Regions from separate parts of the Homo sapiens genome. Here region 2 is linked to region 1. Evidence: promoter capture Hi-C in 16 types of primary human blood cells and fetal thymus (Javierre and others, 2016). All regions are on one chromosome and are shown on one strand. The core of a region is centred on a gene start or on the middle of the fragment in contact, and the rest is flanking DNA. Distances in the headings are between cores, read along the strand shown. Region 1 holds the start of MAML3 (mastermind like transcriptional coactivator 3). Region 2 overlaps ELF2 (E74 like ETS transcription factor 2).

The links. Contacts are between HindIII fragments. The CHiCAGO score rates a contact against its expected background, and 5 or more counts as called.
Region 2: a fragment that was not itself captured here is called in contact with the fragment with the promoter of MAML3 in region 1 in 1 of 17 cell types (fetal thymus); the score reaches 8.2 in fetal thymus.

Annotation. Positions count from the first base shown.
Region 1 is chr4:140,151,572-140,157,069 of GRCh38, forward strand. MAML3 (mastermind like transcriptional coactivator 3) reads right to left here and starts at 2,613. Exons shown (of 5, transcript NM_018717.5): 1 at 1,289-2,613. The coding sequence starts at 1,756. RefSeq lists an enhancer at 1-174. The HindIII fragment of the contact is 806 bases long and covers 2,264-3,069 here.
Region 2 is chr4:139,076,790-139,082,287 of GRCh38, forward strand. All of the region lies in intron 4 of ELF2 (E74 like ETS transcription factor 2), which reads right to left. Among named protein-coding and RNA genes, the nearest start is that of NOCT, 64 kb to the left of the region's middle. The HindIII fragment of the contact is 4,123 bases long and covers 328-4,450 here.

The sequences.
Region 1 (5,498 bases), core at 1,363-3,862:
CGGGCTCTGCGCCGCCGATCGCTGGGCGGTCTGCACGGGAAACAGGCGAAGGCGCGCGGCCCCGGCACGCTCCAGGATTCCCGTCGCCTGGCCCACCCAGCACCCGGGCGGCGCGGTGCGGGGGGGGGGGGCACACACCTTTCCCAAGCTTCCGGCCTCCCCTCACCCAGAAAGGAAAGCAAAAGAACCGGAGAGGGGAGATAAGAGAAAGGATTCTAGCCTCCGGCTTGGGGGGTGGGAACTGCCCCTTCCTCCTGGAGAAGTTAAGCCATTGGCTGCTCATCCTACCTCGAACCCGCCCACCCAGCCATTTAAGCCTCTTTTACCTCCCTGCTACCTTCCATTGCTCTGGGCTTATTAAGCAGGCCCCCAAAGTTGGCGGGCAGCGGGGCAGGGGGCGCCAAGCGGAGAAAGACTCCGTGCACGCAAGTTTAAAAGGAAAAAAGGAAAGAATCCCAAGCGAAGTTGTGTGGTGGGGCCTCTTGGCGCAAACCCTGGGTATTGCTTTCCCCTCCCGCCCCCTCCAGGCCGCTCCCCTCTTAACCCTCCCAGCCGCTCCACCTGCCGGGCTAGCCCCGAGTCGCGAGCAAAGAGCGGAGCGCACCCGCGCCCCGCATCCGCGCGCGCTCCCGCGAGCACCCCCGCGCGCAGCCACCCTCGCTCGTTTCTCACCCACTTCAAAGTTCATTCACAAAACTCTCAGACTTTCTCAGCCCAAAGGGGGTGAGCTGGGGAGAGGAGGCGAGAGGCTCTCCTTCCCCGCTTCCCCCCTAGGGGTTGAGGGCCTGGTGCCCGCCCAGAACCTGCGACAGCATCAATATTTCCACGCACCCGGCGGATGTGCTGAGAGGGGTGGGCGTAGGGGGACGGGTCTGGGGAGGCGAGGCGGCGCGGCTAGAGGTGGGGTGGGGAGCGGCGAAGAGGAGGAGCAAGGTTTCAACTCAGGGGTTCACTCTTTCAAATCGGTATCTTAAGAAAGGGAAGGGGGGAAACTTTTCCAGCACCTCACTCCGACGCTCCTCTAGGCTCCCTCCGCCCCTCGCAGTCGTGACTGGCTTCTCCCCTCTCGCCCCCTCCTCCCCAAATCTGACAACCCTGACAGATTAACAGGTAGCGACGACGGCAGCTTTTTCCCTAAGAAAAGTTGACGTTAACCCTTAGGCTTCAGCCCACCTCACCCACCGTGCAAATCAGACCCTTGTACCCCCATGTAAGAAGCTCCACGCGCCCCCCACCACCACCACCACCCCCAACGCGCGCCGCAAGCCCGCTGCCCGTGCGCCCTCACCATGATCAGCGTGTGGTTCCTCTGCTCCGCCGAGGCAGCCTCCGCATCTTGCTGGGGTTTGCTCGGGTGCTGCTGTTTGCCGGTGCCGGCGCCCGATTTCTTGGCCCTCTGCTCCAGGGTCCGCTGGTAGAGGCTCACGGTGTCCCGGCGCTCCAGCTCCAGCTGCTCCACCTGAGCCTGCTGGTACCTGTTCTCGCAGTTGACGTGGTGCCGACGGCAGCCCTCGATGCGCTGGCGGAGCCGCTCCACCACGGTGCTGTGCTTGGGAACGGCCGCCGAACCGCCGCCGGGGCCCCCGGAGCCGCCGCATCCACCGGCTGCCGGGTGATTGCTACTCGGAGCAGCGGGAGTACTATTGGGAGTATTATTCACACCGATCCCGGCCCCGCCGAGGCTGCTGTTCAGGCTACTGTTGATGCAAATACTACTGCCATTCGCGGCAGCAGCGGGGGCTGCGAAATCCCCCATCCTGCTCCCCGGGCACACTATTTTGGAAGAACTTTTTTTATCCACCCCCCTATCAGCCTCCTCCTTGGGTCCAAGGATTAAAATAGTTTAAGTGGAACGCGGGGGAGACGCAAGCACATGGATGGAAACGGCGATCCCGACGGGGCGAAAAAAACGGGGGGGGAGATTTTGGGGTGGTTTTTGTTTCCTTTTTTTAAACTGTAAAAGCTCAAGGGGAAGAAAAGGGGGGAACGTTATCGGAATACCATCAGACACCTATCAACAAAAAGAATCACAACAAACTGAGCCAGCAGCAAATCGGGTTGCAACTCAAGGGGAGATCCGCTCCTTGCTTGCCTTCTTTTTATAATCCATTATTTTCTAATAAATTCCAGGAGATTTCCGGTGGTTGGCAAGCATTTTCTCCCTACATACCGAAAAACACACCCCATGTACACACACAAGCATATGCCTCCAGTGCGGACACGCGCGACACACACTCACTCCACACCGCATCGGAAAACGGCAAGCTTGCTTATTGCATTTTCCTTCCACAAAAAAGTTTTGGTGTTTATGCCGCCCCGTGTTCTCAAAGTACTTTGGCTGCTCAGTTGCATTTCACAGGAACCTAGATATCGAATCCTCGGGCTGGGGGAAGTAAACACATGGACAGTCCGAGGCGACTGCAAAAGTAGATCGGTGAAGTCCTTTGCAAAACGCCGCGCAGAGAGCAGCACCTAACGCTCGGCTGGGCTGCCGCTGCCGCCGCTGCTCCTGCCACCATCACAATGATCAACTGCTCGCCGCCGCCGCCGCCGCCGCCTCCTCCTCCTCCTCTCGCTCCTCCACCTCCTCCTCCTCCTCCATGCCAGCGGAGTGATATCAGGACGCGCGAGCTCAGTAAACACGGCAGCGGCGGCGGCTGGAGGCCGTGAGACAGGCCCGCGGACACGGCGCAAAACCCGGCCCGGACTCTCACCCGGCAGGAGCGGGCGCGGCACGCACCAGCACCCGGCTCCCGTCTCCGTCGCCTCGGCGCCCGGCGCCCCTCCTACGCCCCCAACCACACTACCGCCCCGCCGAGAAGCCCAGAGCCGTCGGCGACGGAGAGAAGAAAGATTCTGGGGGGATCTCAGAAATAAATCAACTTTTGACCTGTGTGTGTGCGTGAGAGCGTGTGTGAGTGTGTGTGTCTGTGTATGCGCGCGCGCGTGCGCGGGGACGCGCCTGGTAGGGTTTCCTTATTCCAAGGAAAGTATCAAGCGATCCCAAGTTGTTGTTATACATTTATGCATTATATTGCAGAACTGTGCATGACCAGGCAGAAACATTGAAGCTTTACAGCAGTTGTCTGTCATCCCTATCCATGTGGAAAGAAAAAGGCAAATGAGTGACTTGTTTTTAAAACCCAGGTAATAAGTCTGCGCTAGTAACAGCGCTACTTACGGACACTTGTTCCAAGTCTAGGCCAGACTGAACACACAAATACCAAATTCTAAATAAATAGAAATAGGCATCAAAAATGTGTAATATTTAACTCACTGTACATAATGATTGTTGTTACTAAGTCAATTATTGTTTTACTTACCCTTGGAAAAAAATAAAGCAAGCAGGGACTTGGAGGTGAGACTAACAGTACATTTAAACAGACTGTTTTGAACACTAGGTGCTAATGACAGCAGTAATTAAGGTCCTTCGTAAATCAAGTGGAAAGATTGCAGATTTCATAGACTAGAACTATAGAAAAAACACAGCATTTCACAGTTTGTCATGACCAAAACAAAAACAAGCAAAAATAACAGGCCTACTTTATTGCTGGATATATTTCTTTCCATTTCAATGAATTCACAATAAGTACAATTAAAATGGACTAGCAACTGCAGAAATCAATCTAAACTTTCCATTTTATTAAAGCACATTATCTTTCCCGATATTATCTAAAAACAAAAATAACAACTAAGGATCAAATATTCTTGAATATGGACTTAAACCATTGCATATACATATTTTTAAAAATTAAGATGGAGAAATTATTATTTCTCTAATAATCAGTAAACTATAAATCTTGATTGTGAGATGTTAATTATAAGTCATTTTGTATTATTTCAATAAATCTTAAGAATTAGTTTTTAGGGTAAAAATACACCCCAGTTTTCTAAAATAGCCAGGAATAAAAGAACTTTGGATCTTATGCATTAGTCATGAGATCTGATTTAAACCATCTTCATTTCTTGGCATTGCAGATTAGCACAGGATGCTATTTCTAACCTCATAATGTCAGCGATAAGAAGCTATATTTTTCTTCAATTAATCAGTTCTATATAGTGAACGATATTTTTAATATTCACTGGATATATGGCAAAATGGGCAGCAAAATATTTAATACGGTGTGAGGCTACTTCTAAGCAGTAAAACCAACTTAAGAGAGTGTATATTTCATTGAAGTTGCCACACTTTTTCTGAAGGCTATTTAGTTAATATACAAATTTCTGTATCAAACTGCCCTTCTTCAAGTCTCAGTCAGAAAATTTAACTGGACTACGTCTGTAGCAAAAGAGCCCGTTCAGATTCTGAAAATATGTAGAGAATTTTAAGAAATTAGAAAAAGAGGTAGCAAAGTGGCCTTTATCTTTTTCACATATTCACTAAATAATATCTCTATTAACTCAGGAAACACATGGCTTCGCCACAGAGGGGAAGCTATGACTCTGCATTCGCTTTGCTCTCTCTTCACCGTAGTTTAATTCTTTTTTTTTTTTTTTTTTTTGAGACAGAGTCTTGCTCTGTTGCCTAGGCTGGAGTGCAGTGGCGCCATCTTGGCTCACTGCAACCTCTGCCTCCCGGGTTCCAGTGATTCTCCTGGCTGAGCCTCCTGGGTAGCTGGGATTACAGGTGCACGCCACCACACCTGGCTAATTTTTGTATTTTTAGTAGAGACGGGGTTTCACCATGTTGGCCAGGCTGGTCTGAAACTACTGACCTCAGATGATCCACCTGCCTTGGCCTCCCAAAGTGCTGGGATTACAGGTGTGAGCCACTGCGCCTGGCCACACTGTAGTTTAATTGTTATCCCTCCTCCTTCACTTGCCTCCATCACCCACAAAAGACTGCAGTTTGATTTACAGAGGCAACAAATTTGAGGGTCTTAAGCACTGGGTCTTTAGTTTTTGAGACTTGGGTTCTCATTTTAGCTTTTTCCTGTGACTCAGAATTTAATTATTCATTGAGAGTTTCTCATTCTGGGGAAAAAATGACAACAATAGCAGCACCATGTATTCCCTTCAAGCTGTTTACCTCTCCTACCATGAAGGGAAACCAAAAAGACACAAGAATTTGCATCCTTCCCTTTGGGGAACCAGCAGGTGGGACAGCACACTTTGTGGTTTTACCACAGAGTTCCCCAATGACAAATGAAGCTCTTCTTGCACAACCACAGTATACTTTGCTGCCTGATTTTAGTGCATGAATGGGCTATACCCAAAAGAAAAACTGTTACATGTGTACACACAAACAAGCGCACACACAGGCACCCGTCTTTCATCTCTCCAAAATGGGAGTGGCAGCCACAAGCTCCATGCCCCAGATGTGGGGAAAGGAAGAACTGTGAAACTGTGTGATGGCCAGAGGGGAAGAATCTTTGAGAAACCGACCTGTGCAGGACTCTGCTGTGACGTACCAGAGGTCAGAAACCCCATTCTCATTGTGCAGGAAGATTAGAAGAAAGAAGCAAGAAGCAAGCAAGGCTTGCATCTTGAGCAACATA
Region 2 (5,498 bases), core at 1,139-3,638, 1.1 Mb before region 1:
TTGTTATGTCAATGGAAATTACTTCTTCAAGGTGTAATTCTTGCACATATTTCTGACCTCAACTTCCCCTTCCCCCCTAAAATTCAACATATTATATCTCAGAAATATTTTATATTTACAGAGTAAAATACATACTTAGAAAATTTACTCATTCATACTTTAAATTTACGATGACAACATAAAATATGCATAAATTACCTATGAAGTTATCAGCCAGAAGATCTAATACTCTACGTACAACTGACAAATCGTTGCTGACATTTACCATGTGCCCAGACCCTGTGCTATAAACCTGACACAAGTGTGAACAGATTTCTGGCCTCATGAAGCTTATACTACTATAGGTTGGGCATGCCTTATCCAAAATGCTTAGGACCAGAAGTGTTTCAGATTTCGAATTTAAAAAAATATATATCTGCACTATATATTTCCAGTGGAACATCCCAAATCTAAAAATCCAAAATGCTTTAATGAGCACTTCGAGTGTCACATCAGTGCTCAGTTTCAGATTTTAGAACACTCAATCTACAGTTCAGAGAGCATTAAATGGAAGATATTTCAAAACTAAATAAAAATGTAAAATAAACTTACTTTGTAAGTTACAAGCATGTTAAGAGGAACACTGATTACTTTTTTACTGCTTACTAATTTTATCTCATCATTTTTATTTACTAACTAAAATAATGCAAAATACAAAAATCTAAGAGGCTGTTCTCAGATCAATTTACAATAATGTACTAATGCCAGTTTCCAAAACTTAACACATTTTGTAAAAGTGAGCACTATCTTTTTATTTTTGTTTACATAAGTCAAGTAACTTTTAACAGAAATTTAAGAAATATTTCTCCTACTTGTGTCTGTAATTAAAAAAAAAATACTATTTTGTTCAGATCAATAATTCAAATAAAATTTAAACTATAATTTTGCACATTTAAGAATAAGCATGAATTTAACAGTGTTGTGCAATCAAAGTAAGCAAGCTACAAGCAAGAGCTGAAAAGTAGAATTCCTTATCTTACTTAAAACTTGACTTACTGGTATCTTTCTACATCTATGAAATTTATAGAAGGAAAAATAAATAACTCATTTTAAAAATAGAAACAATGAAGCTAAAAGTAGTCTGACAGGTATCATTTTCTAGTTACCACTGGTAGTGGCTATTGCTGGTCAATCCCCCTTGAAATAAATTTCAAGAACTGTTTTACTTTTTATTACAGTACCAAAAATAATATTTGCTTGTACCTTCATTTAATATTGGTAAATATCTTCTTGTTCCATTTCTATCTTTCTAATCAACCGGTGTTTGTATGGTACTGAAGACTATTCCAGACTCACTCAACAGCTGTTACAAAATACCAAACTTGGTAATTAAGTCTGACAAGAGGCATACCTCTCAGCTTTGCATAAAAGAATGCTGGCAATGGATCTAGTTCATAAAAATGTTCTCAAGTCAAAAATAAAATTTAGTAGCAATTTAGTTTGAGAGCAGTGAAAAAAAATTAGAAAACACTTCATTAGGTGATAGTGGTATTCTCCTATAAGCAACACTATAAACTAATAGTACAAGGTCTTCAGTCAACTGCAGCACCCGATTTACCACTACTTATCCTCTAATGCCCCAAAGCTATACCAGTAATAGGTAAATGAAGAATACAAATGAAGGCAATAAAAAGGGGGAAAAGGTAATTAAAGGTCTGGAATACTCCATCTTCACCTTTTCCCCCTTGACCTTTTAATCAATATACTTGCATTATAAAGTATAAAAAGGAAAAAGAATGGCAATTCTTTTTTTTTTTTTTTTACACTCTCGGAGGGGGAGAGCGAACTGCCCTCTGCAAGATGAGATCAGCCAGAAATTAAGTTTAAATTAATTAAAATTAAAAATTGAGTTTCTTAGCTACATTTTAAGTACTCAGATACATGCGGCTAGTGGCTACCATACAGTACAGACCTAAACAACACTGTAATTCAGCTATCCTCCGACCTTTTTTATCTGAGGACACTTTTACACTCAAAATACTGAAGACCTCGAGATTTTATCTGTATTTATCATATTTGAAATTACAAAGAAAACTTCAAAATTATTAATTCATTTAAAATAATACACCCATTACTGCAACCATAAATAACATTTTTTATGAAAAATAACTGTTTTTTGAGACAAGGTCTCGCTTTGTTGCTCAGGTTGGAATGCAGTGGCATGATCATGGTTCACTGTAGCTTAGATCTCCTGGGGTGTGATCCTCCTACCTCAGCGTCTCAAGTAGATGAGACCACAGGCACGCATCAGCACACCCAGCTAATTTTTTGATTTTTTTTTTTAGAGACGAGGGTCTCACTATGTTGTCCAGGCTGGTCTCAAACTCCCAGACTCAAGAGATCCTCCTGCCTTGGCCTCCCAAAGTGCTGGGATTACAGGCATAAATCACCATGCCTGGCCAAAAATAACTTAAAATAAAAAACAAAAAGTAAGTAGCTTTGTTTTTTACATTTTTGCAAATCTTATTATACTTGATTCAATAGAAGGCAGCTGAATTCTCCTTCCTCTTTCAATCTATTGGAATAACCCATCTATACATAGCTCCTAACTCCTCTGTACACTTTTGAAAGTGACAAGGCAAATAATGTCCCAGTATTATTTTCAAAACAGTTTTGTCTTTACAGATCCTGTGAAAGGCTCTTGGGACTCCCAGAATCCGGGTCAGAGAGTTTGGTTTTTGAGAAGCGCAGCTGTAATTCATCAACTGTAATTAATAACAACCAAATTCTATCCCCATGCTTATATAAGTTTTAGCTTCTAAACATAAACATCAGGGTGTAGATGACAAATTATGATTCTAGCCTAGGAGCTGTGGCTCACACCTATAATCTCAGCACTTTGGGAGGCCAAGGCAGGTGGATCACCTGAGGTCAGGATTTCAAGACCAGCCTGGCCAACATGGTAAAACCCCATTTCTACTAAAAATACAAAAATTAGCCAGGAGTGGTGGCTCACGCCTGTAATCCCAGCTACTTGGGAGGCTGAAGTGGGAGAATCACTTGAACCTGGGAGGCAGAAGTGAGCCAAGATTGTGCCACTGCACTCCAGGCTGGGCGACAGAGGGAGACTCCATCTCAAAAAATAAAATAAATGTAAAAAAAATAAAAATTATGATTCTGTAAGTAAAACAGTATTTGTCTACTCACAGATAAATGGTTTTTAAAAAGCTCTTCTTAAGCATTTCTTTGCATCCTTTTGAACATTTTGCTATAGATGACACAAGGAATCATTTTAAACAATTATCAAACATGAGGAATTATTTTAAATAGTTATCAAGAACATTCTGCTGCCTGCCCTTCTCCACCAACCAAATTTGTTTCTAAAATAGTTTTATGTTGAATGATTCTGATTGGCTATTTACACACTGACTGATGTGACCATGTAACTCAGTTTTTACATGAATTTTAGTACCAATGCTGCAATGAATTGTGAAGGGTAATTTCTTAAATTCATTTTCAAATGAGCTTTTTAAAAAGAAAACTAGTGTCATTCCTTGAGTTTCATTTTAATGTATCTATTCACATACTGCTTTTAACTTCTTTTCATACTGCTAATTTTTTTTCAATTTGATCTTTTCAAGATTGAGACTACATATTCCAATTTATAGTAAATCAGAAATGAGATTTTCAATTTCATAATGAACTTTAATAAAATAGATTTGTTTTCTGTCAGTGAAAATATTTAGGCTAAATTTCCAGAAAAATTTCACCTTCATTTAATAACTGCATTGTTGACCAAAACTTCTGATTACCTTATTTCGCAAATGTAAAAATAAAATAAAATAAGAAAAGACAAATAAAGGAAAAAGTCAAGAAAGGTATACTTGAGAATAAGGCAGAAATCTTCCAGAAAATCCAGACTGTTCATACACAATACTTTAACATAAATATTAGGAAAGTAACAATGCTAGACATTTGTTTTTCCTATATTAAGCTATATACACTAGAAATGAGCCTAAATTATTAATTAGACTATATTACAGACTTAAACATATAAAGAGCCTCAAGTTCCAATTTGGCACACATTTTTATTTTCAAAGACTGGATAAAAGAAGTTAACCTACCAATTACATAACGAACTTATAGACATATTCATTCACATGGTGTAATATTAGAAAAAAAAAAAAAAACCCAAGGAGAAGCCCTACCTTTCCATTAAGTATTTCCAAGCCACTTATTTTAGAGCTTTAAAAGTCATTAGCAATCATCTAGTCAACCCTGTCTTCTTAGAGAAAAATGAAGCCCTAAAGATGTTAAGTCACTAGCTAGTTTAGTGACAGCTAGATATAGATCCTCAACTCTTCAGGGTCAAGGCTCGTTCTCATACATCATATTGTCCATGAAATTTTAAAGTACGTCGAGTCTTTACTACAAACATACTTTGTAAAATGACAGTGAGTTTTAATAAATAAGCTTATTTATTTCATCCTTTACTCAAACTCCTCTGGCAGCATAAATGTTTATAGCTAAAGGAATGCACATGTGATACTTAACACCTCAAAAGGAAGAAAAGCAAAAGTATATTCGAGCTTAACATGTACCTTAACATGTAGCGACAGTGATAATATTAAGTGTTATATACTTGCTTAGAAACATGTTATGCTGAAAATATTAACCTAAAGCTTATCTCCTCTAGAAGTTGTATAAATATCATTCTACACTAATCATCAACCCATTATAGCAATCACTGGAACTATTTTTTACATTTATACATTATATAGATTTTCACCTGTCTCCCCAGACTGTAAAATCTTTGTGAGGAAGAATTCTCTGTCACACCTGATGACCTCCCTCAAGGAGATAAAAAGGTATTCTGTCCATTACACAAATACAAACTTTAGAAACATTATCCTACCAATGCTATTGAAAATTGGCAGCAATAAAAATTTAGAATCATGATTCCTAATCTTCTGGGCCATCTTTCCTCCCTAACTTTTAACACACTGAATAAACCTTGGGTAAAAGAGCAAACCTCTCTCAAGTTTCCTTCTAAAATAAGGCTTGTAAGGGAGCTTCAGATTACATGAACATAATTGGTGACATAACTTGAAAATAACTGTATGTAAAACATATTCTTTACAGAACATTATTATCATAAACTTTAAGATTCGTATATAGTACAGAAATGCAGTAGAGCTGGAAAACAGCACTTTTTAAAACCCCTTATCAAAAGACAAAACTTTTGTCTTTTCAAACCAAAGACAGTCTTTTATATACACACATATATACTCCAAGGAGAATACCTACAGGCCATATTCAGTTTCACCGGTAATTCCAAAAGCTTACGAAAAAATAGTTTCCAATGGCAAAGTGAAGCCCTCCTACCTTTACAGTATTTTTCAAAGTTTTGATGCAAAGGCATTCTAAGGTTCTTTCCGTGTGTTCGCAGCCACTGGAAACAACATCTCTTGAACTGTACATATTCAATATTCACAGAAATATCATTGACCCAACAACTT